3 separate regions of the Homo sapiens genome follow, and regions 1 and 2 are each linked to region 3. Evidence: promoter capture Hi-C in 16 types of primary human blood cells and fetal thymus (Javierre and others, 2016). All regions are on one chromosome and are shown on one strand. Each heading gives the region's core, a stretch centred on a gene start or on the middle of the fragment in contact. The rest is flanking DNA. Distances are from core to core; before and after follow the strand shown.

What was found. Contacts are between HindIII fragments. The CHiCAGO score rates a contact against its expected background, and 5 or more counts as called.
Region 1: a contact is called between a fragment that was not itself captured here and the fragment with the promoter of GNA14 in region 3, in 1 of 17 cell types (endothelial precursors). The highest score is 6.4, in endothelial precursors.
Region 2: a contact is called between a fragment that was not itself captured here and the fragment with the promoter of GNA14 in region 3, in 2 of 17 cell types (erythroblasts and endothelial precursors). The highest score is 5.3, in erythroblasts.

What each region holds. Positions count from the first base shown.
Region 1 is chr9:77,481,934-77,486,171 of GRCh38, forward strand. The region is part of intron 2 of GNA14 (G protein subunit alpha 14); the gene reads right to left. The region is part of intron 2 of GNA14-AS1 (GNA14 antisense RNA 1); the gene reads left to right. Among named protein-coding and RNA genes, the nearest start is that of GNA14-AS1, 36 kb to the left of the region's middle. The HindIII fragment of the contact is 4,273 bases long and covers 376-4,238 here.
Region 2 is chr9:77,421,635-77,426,035 of GRCh38, forward strand. It overlaps GNA14 (G protein subunit alpha 14), which reads right to left. Exons shown (of 7, transcript NM_004297.4): 6 at 3,928-4,081; 7 at 1,445-2,535. The coding sequence ends at 2,345. Among named protein-coding and RNA genes, the nearest start is that of GNA14-AS1, 24 kb to the right of the region's middle. The HindIII fragment of the contact is 581 bases long and covers 1,909-2,489 here.
Region 3 is chr9:77,645,872-77,650,512 of GRCh38, forward strand. It overlaps GNA14 (G protein subunit alpha 14), which reads right to left and starts at 2,451. Exons shown (of 7, transcript NM_004297.4): 1 at 1,799-2,451. The coding sequence starts at 1,922. The HindIII fragment of the contact is 2,117 bases long and covers 713-2,829 here.

The sequences.
Region 1 (4,238 bases), core at 1,262-3,761, 160 kb before region 3:
TATGTATGTCCCTGCATGTGAGATGGGTTTCCTGAATACAGCACACTGATGGGTCTTGACTCTTTATCCAATTTGCCAGTCTGTGTCTTTTAATTGGAGCATTTAGCCCATTTACATTTAAAGTTAATACTGTTATGTGTGAATTTGGTCCTGTCATTATGATGTTAGTTGGTTATTTTGCTCATTAGTTGATGCAGTTTCTTCCTAGCCTTGATCGTCTTTACATTTTGGCATGTTTTTGCAGTGGCTGGTACCAGTTGTTCCTTTCCATGTTTAGTGCTTCCTTCAGGAGCTCTTTTAGGGCAGGCCTGGTGGTGACAAAATCTCTCAGCATTTGCTTGTCTGTAAAGGATTTTATTTCTCCTTCACTTATGAAGCTTAGTTTGGCTGGATAAAAGAAAAGAATTCTGGGTTGAAAATTCTTTTCTTTAAGAATGTTGAATATTGGTCCCCACTCTCTTCTGGCTTGTAGAGTTTCTGTCGAGAGATCTCTCTTAGTCTGATGGGCTTCCCTTTGTGGGTAACCCGACCTTTCTCTCTGGCTGCCCTTAACATTTTTTCCTTCCTTTCAACTTTGGTGAATCTGACAATTAAGTGTCTTGGAGTTGCTCGTCTTGAAGAGTATCTTTGTGGAGTTCTCTGTATTTCCTGAATCTGAATGTTGGCCTGCCTTGCTAGATTGGGGAAGTTCTCCTGGATAATATCCTGCAGAGTGTTTTCCAACTTGGTTCCATTCTCCCTGTCACTTTCAGGTACACCAATCAGACCTAGATTTGGTCTTTTCACATAGTCCCATATTTCTTGGAGGCTTTGTTCATTTCTTTTTATTCTTTTTTCTCTAAACTTCTCTTCTTGCTTCATTTCATTCATTTCGTCTTCCATCACTGATACCCTTTTTTCCAATTGATTGCATCAGCTCCTGAGGCTTCTGCATCCTTCACGTCGTTCTTGAGCCTTGGCTTTCAGCTCCATCAGGTCCTTTAAGGACTTCTCTGCATTGGTTATTCTAGTTATCCATTCGTCTAATTTTTTTTCAAAGTTTTTAACTTCTTTGCCATTGGTTTGAATTTCCTTCTGTAGCTCAGAGTAGTTTGATCGTCTGAAGCCTTCTTCTCTCAACTCATCAAAGTCATTCTCCGTGCAGCTTTGTTCCATTGCTGGGAGGAGCTGCGTTCCTTTGGAGGAGGAGAGGTGCTCTGCTTTTTAGAGTTTCCAGTTTTTCTGCTCTGTTTTTTCCCCATCTTTGTGGTTTTATCTACTTTTGGTCTTTGATGATGGTGACGTACAGATGGGTTTTTGGTGTGGATGTCCTTTCTGTTTGTTAGTTTTCCTTCTAACAGACAGGACGCTCAGCTGCAGGTCTGTTGGAGTTTGTTAGAGGTCCACTCCAGACCCTGTTTGCCTGGGCATCAGGAGCAGTGGCTGCCGAACAGCGGTGGCTGTAGAACAGCGGATATGGGTGACCTGCAAATGCTGCTGCCTGATCGTTCCTCTGGAAGTTTTGTGTCAGAGGAGTACCCGGCCGTGTGAGGTGTCAGTCTGCCCGTAATAGGGGGTGCCTCCCAGTTAGGCTGCTCAGGGGTCAGGGATCCACTTGAGGAGGCAGTCTGCCCGTTCTCAGATCTCCAGCTGCATGCTGGGAGAACCACTACTCTCTTCAAAGCTGTCACACAGGGACATTTAAGTCTGCAGAGGTTACTGCTGTCTTTTTGTTTGTCTGTGCCCTGCCCCCAGAGGTGGAGCCTACAGAGGCAGGCTGGCCTCCTTTAAAGGAGTCTTATATGAAAATTCCCAGAACTAAAGCACATAAATCTTTGGACTGAAAGAGCTCTGGAGGACCCAGCATAATGAATGGGAAATAACCCACCTCAATAACCGTAGGGATAAAATGAAGGTATGACATTCTTTGAGAAAAAGAGAATATATAAGGAATGTAGAATTAGAATGACATTAGATTTTTCAAAAAACAAACACAAAATAAAAGATAGTAATGCTTTCAAAATCAGAGTGAGAATGACTTTCAAACTAGAATTCAATACCCAGACAAATATTGATCAAGTCTAAGGGCAGAATAAGACATTTAAGACATTCAAGAATACAAAACAATTTCTCTCCCATGCCCCTTTTCTTTGGAGAACATGAAAGGATGTGCTCCAGGTAAACACAGAATCAGAAAGAAGAAGAAATAACAACTGGAACACAGTAAAGAGGTAAAGGGAAGTGTCATAATCAGAACTTGCAGTCAATTAAAAGAACAATCAATCTAGCTCAGAGTAGGAGGATGAAGAGCTTAAAGTGAAACATATCCAAGAGAAAAAATGGAATTTATAAATACAGTTTGTCTTAAGAGGAGTTTTATAATTCTGCCTCAAAGTTTAGGAATAAACTACTAATGGGCACATAAAACAACCTTCTTGGAAAAAATTAAAACGTGTTCAAAAAGAGAATTGTGATCATGGTTAGAAATGGCTCAACTGTGAACAATATTTATATAATCATAAGTGATAAACGATTTCATCACAAATTGTTATATAACAATGTAAGGAATACAAGTGTGGGTGGGTGGGTGTGGGTGCTGTAGGCAGGGATATAAAATTGTTTCCATTAGAAAGTAAGAGTACTACACTTTGTGGTAGTATGAATCAGGGATGAGGCAGGGGACTGCTCTTTTTCATTTTATATCTTGTAGTACAGTTGTCCCCTTTATCCATGGAGGGTATATTCCAAGACCTTCAGTGGACACCCAAAACCATGGATAGTACCAAGCCCTATATATACTGGCATACCTCAGAGACATTATGAATTTGGTTCCAGGCCACTGTAATGAAGTAAAAATTTCAATAAAATGAGTCACACAAATTTTGGTTTCCTAGTACATACAAAAGTTAGGTTTATACTCTATTGTAGTCTATTAAGTGTGCAATAGCATTATATCTAAAAAAACACTGTACGTACCTTACTTGAAAAATATTTTATTTTTTAAAAATGCTAATGATCATCTGAGCATACAGCAAGTTATAATCTTTTTGCTCACAGAGGATCTTTCCTTATGTTGATGGCTGCTCAGGATGGTGGTTGCTAAAGGTTGAGGTGATTGTGAGCAATTTCTTAAGGCAGCAATGAAGTTTGCCGCATTGATTGACTCTTCCTTTCATAAAAGACTTCGTGTCATGTGATGCTGTTTGATAGCATTTTACCTACAGTAGAATTTGAGTTAATCCTCTCAAATCCTGCCACTATTTTATCAACTAAACTTATATAATACTCTAAATCTTTTGTTGTCATTTCAAAAATGTTCACAGCATCTCCACAGGAGTAGTTTCCATCTCAAGAAATCACTTTCTTTGCTCATCCATAAGAAGGAACTCCTCATTTTTTCAAGTTTTATAATGAGATTGCAGCAATTCAGTTACATCTTCAGGCTCCACTTCTAATTCCAGTTCTCTTATACTCCTACCACATCTGTAATTACTTCCTCCACCAAAGTCCTGAACCTTCAAAGTCATCCATGAGAGTTGGAATCAACTTATGCCTAACACCTGTTAATAATTTGACTTCCTCTCAGGAATTACAAATGTTCTTCATGGTATCTAGAATGGTGAATCCTTCCCAGAAGGCTTTCAATTTACTTTGCCCAGATCAATCAGAGAAGTCACTATCTATGACAGCTATAGCCTTAAAAAATGCATTTTGTAAATAATAAGACTTGGAAGTCAAAATTACTCCTTGATCCATGGGCTTCAGAACAATGTTTTGTTAGCAACCATTTAAAAAAAAACACATTAATCTCCTTGTACATCTCCATCAGAGCGCTTAGGTGACCAGGTGCATTGTCAATGAGTAGTAATATTTTGAAAGGAATCTTTTTTGCTAAGCAGTAGGTCTCCACAGTAGGCTTAAAATATTCAGTAAATCATTCTGTCTACAGATGGGCTGTCATCCAGGCTTTGTTGTTCCATTTATAGAGCACAGGTAGAGTAGATTTTGTGCAATTCTTAAGGGCCCTAGGGTTTTAGAATGGTAAATTGGCATTAGTTCCAACTTAATGTCTCCAGCTGCATTAACCCCTAACAAGAGAGTCAGCCTGTCCTTTGAAGCACTGAACCCAGGCATTGACTTCTCTCTTGCTATGAAAGTCCTGGATGTTGTCTTCTTCCAATAGAAGGCTGTTTCATCTATATTGAAAATCTGTGGTTTGGTGTAGCCACTTTCATCAATCATCTTAGCTAGATATTTTG
Region 2 (4,401 bases), core at 949-3,448, 220 kb before region 3:
ATGTGAATAACAGATTGCCCAAGGTCCTGATTTTTCAGTCAAAGCAGGCGACATTCCAGCCCAGCATGATCATTGCTGACTAAAAGCTTGGGGTGGTATAGTACCTAGTAAATTCTCTTTTTTTTTTTTTTTTTGAGACAGACAGTATTGCTCTGTCACCAGGCTGCAGTGCAGTGGCACGATCTCGGCTCACTGCAACGTTCACCTCCCAGGTTCAAGTGATCTTCCTGCCTCAGCCTCCCGAGTCGCTGGGACTACAGGTGTGTGCCACCACGCCCAGCTAATTTTTGTATTTTTTTTTTTTTAGTAGAGATGGGGTTTCACCATGTTGGCCAGGATTGTCTCGACCTAGTGAATTCTTAACCACCGACATTCTGTCTCTTAACCTTAGAAAACTCCGCATGACTCATTTCCCCAGTAAGTAATGAGAATATTGAATGAAGGGCCAGGAGAGAATTTTCTACCAGCAGAATCAGTATTGGCAGAGGTAATTAATTCACCTCTGACATTGAGAGTCTAGCCTTTCCATGCCTTAAGAAAATATTGTTACCACCCTTTGAATGACTTATTTAACAGCCCTCCCACAACCAGGATATGGAAAGCCATCATTTTCTTATATGCTTTAAGTAGTCAGCCAACTATAAATTAACAAAAACTCAATGCAAGAAAGTGCTTAAAATAAGAAATGGAATTCTTCATGGTTTAATTTCCCAGATGACTGGATTCTGTTGAACCCTTTTTATGTTAATTGGCTAGTGAAACCCAGTCCATAGCCTTTAGCCCATCGTTGGTGGGGAGGGGAATTGTCTTGTATTTTCTTTGTGCTTCTAGATATCCTAAAGAGCTCCATTCCCCTCTCTCTGTTCTCACGCAAAACTGTCTCGGCTATTTCTGGACTTTACTGTTCTAGATAAATTTTAACATCAATTTGTGAACTTCCACAAAAGCTGTTGCTATTGCATTTATCTCTTGAGTGAGGATTCATATTTTTAAAGCTAGATGTTGCTATTGTAGAATTGCTGCATATCAGAATAATTTCAGTCTTTTTCAGCAATTGGAATTGTTCCCACAGAATGGGGACACATGGTTCCATAACATATGTAGCCAACCGAGGTGCATTTTATAGACTGATTTGAGACAGATATTTCATACCTTACGTCCCCAAATGGTGTATGTGTGTGTGCACACACATGTGTGCACACATGCACAAAACCATCTTGGCCTTTAGTGTGGAGCACTCTTAATTCCCAGAGGATTCTCCTTCTGCTTGACCCAGCCAGCTACTGAGGGAACTGCAGCATGACACGATGATGCGCAGACTTGCCTTGAAAGGAGGAATCTTAGGAAAGTTTCCGAGTTACTATTAAGGCCACAGCATTTTTCTGTTTAGGAGCAGAACCATCAGTCAACCATGAGCTCTAAGAAACACAACATAACCCAGTGCTAATAGCAGAATGGTATATTCTTAGCCTCCTCAGAAAGGCACAGCATACATAATTCAAACAGCAAATCTGTGGTGGCCATCAGAACTTTGGCAGGGTTACGTAACATTTGTCAAACAATGTGGACTTCTAGCCATTTCATACATTTTTAAGATCTGGTCATATACATTGGGGGTAAAAATGTACACACACACACACGTGCACACACACACATTTTTCACCAATAAAACATATATGCTATCTAGAGCCCATTTACTCTATGTCAGCTTTGGCTTCTTGGTGATCAAACTGTGGCAAAGCTAAATTAGATATACTTATATATCCATTAATTTGGCTTAGAAAGTTAACACACAAAAAGAACCAAGTGTTTAAAAAAAATCTTTGGTGGCATGTTAAAGGAGTCACCCTTCAGCATGAGGTGAGAAACACAATTAAAAATGTCTCTAAATTACAAGGTTTAATAAAAAGCTTCAAACCCATTAACATTCTTATTTTTAAAAAAGTCACCCAAATTAACTCTAGAGGTTTGAAGGCATGATCTATAAACTAACAGGCTCCTTGCTTACATAATTTTAATCGCTATTTTTAAACATATTTAAAACTAAATCAAAGTGGCTTTTAAAAATTCTAGAAAACACCAAATTCAAAAATTACACAAAATCTTATAGCCAAAAGTCAAGAAAATAATTATAAACACAATTTGGGATGTAAGGACTTTTAAAGTATGTTGGTAAACTCAAATATCTTCCAAGTTCCATCACCCATCTCTGTCCCCACGATCTACATGACATCCTTAGTTCCTGGCATGGGGCTGGCTCTGGTGATGTCAGAAGCACTTGCAAATAAAACAAGGAGTTTGCAAATCACATCTTCTGTTATAGGGGAGGAGTGGGCAGCAGCTTTTAGACAAGGTTGAATTCCCTTAGGTTTAGCTGTAGAATTGTGTCTTTGACAGCAGCAAACACAAAGCGAATATTGTCTGTATCTGTAGCACATGTGAAGTGAGAGTAGATGACTTTCTCTTTGTCAGGATTCTGATCTTGGTAAAGCTTCAGGATAAAGTCTCTGGCAGCTCTGACATCCTGTTTCGGTCCTAGTCACAAGTGCAATTACAGGAATAAAGACACAGACTTAACACCATGTCCTCCCAAGAACCTTTTTTTTGAGACAGAGTCTCGCTCTGTAGCCCAGGCTGGAGTGCAGTGGCACGGTCTCAGCTCACTGCAACCTCTGCTTCTGGGGTTCAAGCAATTCTCCTGCCTCAGCCTCCCAAGTAGCTGGGATTACAGATGCGTACCACCACACACAGCTAATTTTTGTATTTTTAGTAGAAACGGGGTTTTACCATGTTGGCCAGACTGGTCTCGAACTCCTGACCTTAGGTGATCCACCTGCCTTGGCCTCCCAAAGTGCTGGGATTACAGGCGTGAGCCACCGTGCCTGGCCCCAAGAACCATTTTTTAATGTATTCTTGTTCTTATTTGAGATCCTGCTTTGATCCATCTTTATTTCCAGGGAACGGTTTACCTGGAGCATTATTTTTATGGTATCTCATCATGAACCCATAAAATAGTCATATTTTAAAATGTCCTCTGGTATCTAAAAATTGTACTTTACAGTGATTTGTTTAAACATAGTGACCCAATTTGTCTGATTTGGACCACTATTGAAGAGAAGTAATCCTGGCTAACACATATGGACAGACAGCTCTGGTCTAGGAGAGATAAAAGGAAGAATGTGGGAACTAACATCAGGCTGATTTTAAAGCTCGAGGGTGCTACACTACACAGCCAGTATGGTTAGTAAAAGGGGAAAGAAGAGTGCTAAAACATGAATCCACTAAATATCAGTGTCAAACTTAAGGTTTGAGACCTCCTGTACCAGAAACAATTAGCAACAGGGCATGAGACTCTCCTACCTTGGACAGGTTATGTGAGTCCACCATGTGTCTGGGAAAAGGGATGCCACACTCTAACATACACATAAGAAGCACCAGGTGCTCTGACTGGCATGAGGAATGCACAGATAAATCAAGCAGAGTCTCTACCCTCATGGAGCCGACTGGGAAGAGAGCTGAGTGAGCAGAGGATATGACATAGCATGATGTGGCCAAGAGAGCAAGCAGGGGTTAGGCTGCTGAGGGAGCAGAAAGGAGGAGGCACCCTTCCTGCAGACCAGATGGGCAGGGGAAGCCAGAAAGGCTCCCAGAGAAGGGGAGGCCTTTGCTGGGTTTTGGAGAACAACATGGAGGCAGCGAAAGGAGTTGGTAAGGGTATTCCAAGCACTGAGGGAAGCACATGTGGAGGTGCTGTGGTGAAAACACAACAATGGTGCAACTAGAGCTTCTGTTTGAAGGTGGGAATAGGGGGAGAGGCTATTGCAGGCAGACCAGGGAGGCCCCTTTGAGCCGTGATAACTCTAGACTGATGCCCGGGAGGTGGACGAGATCAGCACAGAAAACACTGTCCACAAGATAGACACTTACCTGTGTATTCTGGGAAATAGCTAATTAGATGAGAGTACATGATTTTCTCTTCCAAAAGATCCTTCTTGTTCAAGAATAAAATCACAGACGAATTCAGAAACCAGGGGTAGGTGATGATGGTTTTAAATAAGGCTTTGCTCTCTTCCATGCGATTCTAAGTGAAAAACAAGGGACTTGGGATGAAGTAGAAAGGAAATATTTTGGAAACAACATGGCGCATTGCCAGTCCATCCATCTCTTCCCTTGCCCCGCCGCAGTCTCTGGGCCACTGTCTGCTGAAGCTGGTGAGCATGTGGGGCCCCAGGCTACAGGCCTCCTGCTTCTGTTTGCCCCTCCCCAAGCCTCTTACTAACCATCCCCTTCTGGGTCCCCTCTCCTGTAGCATCCCAGCTCTTCTCCAGCCCAAAACTCACATGGAACGAAGTAAGAAAGGCTTTGGTGCAGCTTGGAAAAGGAAGGTTCCTACCCACGTTT
Region 3 (4,641 bases), core at 1,201-3,700:
CTGCCCTTATAAAGAAAAAAGTTACATACGCAACTAAACCCCTCTGGTTTGTGGGGTTCAGGGCAAAAGTACAAAGCCCCGCACCCATAGTTATTTTCTAGTGTTAATCAAGCTAGCAAATTCTCACGTATTCCTCCTCCCTTGACAAAGGTAGCTTTATAACAGCCTAGAAGGCCAGGGACAATTTAGAATTTTCAGACTTTTCAAAGTTATGGGTCAGACACAGAAATAGCAGACCTGGCCAATGAACAGAGCCCCTTCCCTTCCCCACCCAAGCTCCCTCTCTCCTAGGGGGGCCTCTTGGGCACCCACGGGGACTCCCTCCACTCCTACCCAGCCCACATTTCCAAGCACTTTTACGCCCCAGCAAACAGCTGCCCCTTTGTGAGCTCTCCAGGGATCAGGTCTGCCTTCTTTTCTAGGGCTCAGGCCTTAGAAGCTGGTATGGGTCCCTTTGGGCTGGGTATTCATTCCATCCAGGTCTTGGGAGGGAGGGGGCAGCATGGTCTCTGGGTAGCAAGCCCCTTTGGACCTACAGACTTCCAGCTCTGTGGGGAGGGGCACACCCCCCCCCAACCCCCAGAAGGCCAGACTGGGCCCTTTAAACCCAGGGGATAAGGATAAGGGGGTTCTTCCGCCCAGGTCTGAAGGCCATACTGGCTGAGAGCCTTCTCTATATTACACTAACTAGATCAACTTTTTCTTTCCTTGAAGCTTTCTGGGAGGGTGATTCCTATACAAGGAATAAAGATGAATAAATAGATGGTATAAGAGAAGATTCCTGTTCAAAAGGGGTGAAAGAAAAAAAGTTGAAATCTTTGTGGCTATCTAGAAAAAAATTGACAGCTGATATCATGGTCTGAAAGGTAGAAAAGGTAAAATATTCCTCAAACAGCAAATGTGTTGACAGCGTTCTAGAAAGTCTGAGATGGGATCCTTGCCTCATGGCATAACTTGGGCAAACCTTAAACTGTGTTCTTTCTGTGTTTGAAAGTGGATGTCCTACCCAGACCTTTGCAGAGACACCAAAAGAGCTGGATGAAGACCTGCCAGAGGCACCAGGGCAGCCAAGCTGAATCCTAGGACGTGGACACACTGAGTCAAGCTGGGCAAGGGAGGTTTGGGTCCGCTGCAAACACAAAGGCCTGAGGGACCCCCATGGGAGGCAGGCATAGGAGCTCACGGTCAGAGGAGCAGCAACGGCATGGGCTTCACCCCCACAGCTGACCTAGCATCGGCTTTGCCTTTTCTCAATCAGGGCAAGTTGGTCAGTTCTCCAGGCCTCCATGTTTTAATTCTCTAGAATAGCGATATCACCTGCCCGCATCACCAGGTGGTGATGCCCTTAAGAACTTAGCACGATCTGGCACATGGTAAATTCTCAAGATGCTTCATCTAGAACTGAAAGCGTACGGGTCAGAGCTAGCGCTGAACCCAAGATGTGGGTCACCACAGACCCCAAGCTGGGTGTGCTGCGGGCGGAGGAGTGGACGGGGTTTTGAGGAGAGGGGCACACCGGAACACATAAGGTACAGCGGTCAAGAGGTTAAGTGTTACAGGTCCCTATCCTGTTTTGGGGCAGGGGAAGGTGTTGCTTTTGCAAGTCGCCCAGCCAGAGATGGAAAGAACAGGCACCTAAGGCCCCAAGTTGCTGGCATCCGTGAGCTCCGAGGGGGAGAAGGACGAAGCCGCCCTGCACCCCGCTGGGCTCCAGGGCCGCGCGGGTGCCAGTGGAGAGGCCGGGAGGGCTCGGAAGAAAAACGCCCGGCTCACTGGAGTCGGAGACGCAGCCACTCACCCAGCAGCAGCAGCTTAAGCTCACGGCGCGCGTCCTTCTTGTCCCGACGAAGCTGTCGCTCGATCTCCGCGCTGATGCGCTGCGACTCCTTCTCCTCCGCGGACAGGCAGCAGCAGCCGGCCATGGTGCGCTCAGCTCAGTACCCGACGGGGCGACGCGGCCCCGGGCACCCGAATCCTCGGCCCGGCCGCTCACCCGGCCAGCATGCGACGGGCACAGGGGTGTGGAAAGAAAAGACGGGGGCCGACTTGAGCTTTGGAGTAAGACGCCTGGACCTCCGAGGCTCAATCCCCCTTCGAAAGTCGGCTCTGAGGCGGGGTGAATGCCGAGCGCTGGGAACGCTCGAGTGCACCCCGGATCCGGGCTCAGCCCGCCCCACTCTCGCTCTGGGGAGGAGGAGGGCGAGTCGAGAAGTTGGGAGCGTTGCTGGCCCCGGGAAGATGCGCGCGCCCCTTGGCACAGGAGCCGGACAGCAGTCGGGGGCGCAGACGAGTTGGAACGTCGGTGCTCGGGGGAGAGTAGGATCTCCTGGGCCTAGGGGTGTCCCCAGGCGGGAGGTAGGCGCGGAGTGGGTTGGAGGCAAAGGACCTGGCTGGCCTTTGCCTGGAAAGTTCTGAAAACCTCAGCAGTGACCGCAGACTAAGACTGAGTGGAAAGGTTCCCGCTAGCGTTTGTGGCTCTAAGTGGCAGGAGGAGGCGGAGCATCTTGAACCTGCAGCCCTGGCGTCTGCTGGACTTGCCCTTCTGGGCACCCCAAGCCGAAGGCGCCTGGAAGTGAAAGGGGACGAGCAGGGGGCGCGGAGCTGGGGGTGGGAGCTGGCACCTCTAGGAGCAGCTCCCACACTTGCCTCCCTGGCTGGGGCGTCCCGGCCAAGGTTTGCTGTAATCTGCGCGTCTGGCCGCCAGGCACCGGGTTCCGACAGGTGAGTGAGTTTCGCCAACTCACTCGCTCGGAGAAGGCGGCAGCAGGCTGGAAGAGGAGCGGCGCCAAGCGTCTGTTGCGGGACACAAAGCCCCGGACCTGAAGTGGAAGCTTGCCCACCAGCTTCACCACCACGCACACCCGGATTTCCTAGACTGGCTCCTTCCGCTTCCCGGACGCCCCGGCCCAGCTCGGGCTTGGCCAAAGCCCTTGGTCAGCTCGGCAATTTGCCTGTAAAGTGTGGCTGGGCCTGAGCCTGCTGGCTCTGAGCTCGGAGAAGGAGCCGCCGCTGGGTTCAGTTATAAGAGAACTGCAAGAGCCCAGGGTAAATATCCTCTCGGTCTCCGGACGAGGGGGCTGGGGAGAAAGGGAACGGCTGATTGCTTTGCATTTTATGATGGGAAAGACACCTGCTTTGTAGAAAGGGCTGATACGTTCCTAGTAGCACCTGGCAAGTTTCCTGCCCAGCCCTGAAGCCTAACAGCCGCCTTGCGATTGTGTCCGCACTGACACCTTGGCCTGTATCCTGGACCGTCGGGGTCAAGTTTGAGCAGCATTAATAAAAACTTTAAAAGCACCTCTTAGTACTTAAGTGACACGATAAAATGCATATTACAACATCTGACTTTTGTCTGTGTAGATTTTGATGCAGAAAAGGGAAGGTGGGGAGAGGGGATCCTATTGGCCACAGCAATGAACGTTCTTTCCTTCTCAAGTCAGTATAGGCCATATGCTAATGGGGCGTTAGGCAATTAGCTAGCGCTTCCTCTACTAAGAGCAGGCATAAGTGCCTTTCATTTGAGTAGCATATATTTTATAAATTCAAACTGAGGAGCACATTGAGTGGAATGGTACGTGTCATTATATAAAGAAGTTGGTATCGCGATGCTATCTGGCTGCATGTTCTTATTATTTTACAGTTTAAGAAATGTAGAGGAATCAGACATTAAAAATGTGCATACATGCTTTAATGTGTGACTATTTTAGTTTTCTTGCAGGCATAAATTGACAGTAACAGTGACCCCTACAGGAAAACTCCTGGACATTTCAGATTTGATCTTTGGCCATTTAATAGCCTGTTTCTTCTCTCTTAGCTCTTACGGATTCATTTACAATTTGAGAATAAGATCTCTTGGCTTCTCAAAGTCATGGTTGCATCATAATTGTTATCATTTAAAAATTATAAAAAATTTTTAAATGATTAAAACTAGGGCAAATTTGAACTCTTACGTTAACGGGAATTACTGATACTGACCTATTAGGTTTAAAGTTGGCAAGATTTCAAAAACAGTTATGAAACATATTGATTAGGGCAAATCTGTACAACTTTCCTGGGCTAGTCAGCTTGGCAGTATATATCTGAAGCCTTAAACATGTCCGTCCCCTTCGGCCAAACCAGTAATTTCTCCCTTAAGAAATAACTAGAAAGAAGCCTCATGACTGATGCAAAGGTTTTATTGCCAATACAACAACAAAAACTCACAACCTAAATACCTAACAACAGGGAAGAGATCACTTAAATCATGGTTTATCCATACAATGAGATGTTTTGGAGCCATTAAATATGTGGATATGCGAGTAGTAAACATGTGAATAAATTTGGAGAAAATCCTCAAAATATATTGAATGAAAAAGGCAAGATCCAAAAATATAAAGAGTATGATAAGATTTTAGTATAAGAATACGCATACACATTTTTAAGAGACTGAAGGGACACACATCAAAAAGGTAGCTTGCTGTGAGTCATGGCTGTTTGGTTGATTTTCATTGTTCATTAGAAAATTTGGGCTGGGTGCAGTGGCTCACGTCTGTAATCCCAGCACTTTGGGAGGCCGAGGCGGGCAGATCACCTGAGGTTGGGAGTTCGAGACCAGCCAGCCTGACCAACATGGAGAAACCCCATCTCTACTAAAAATACAAA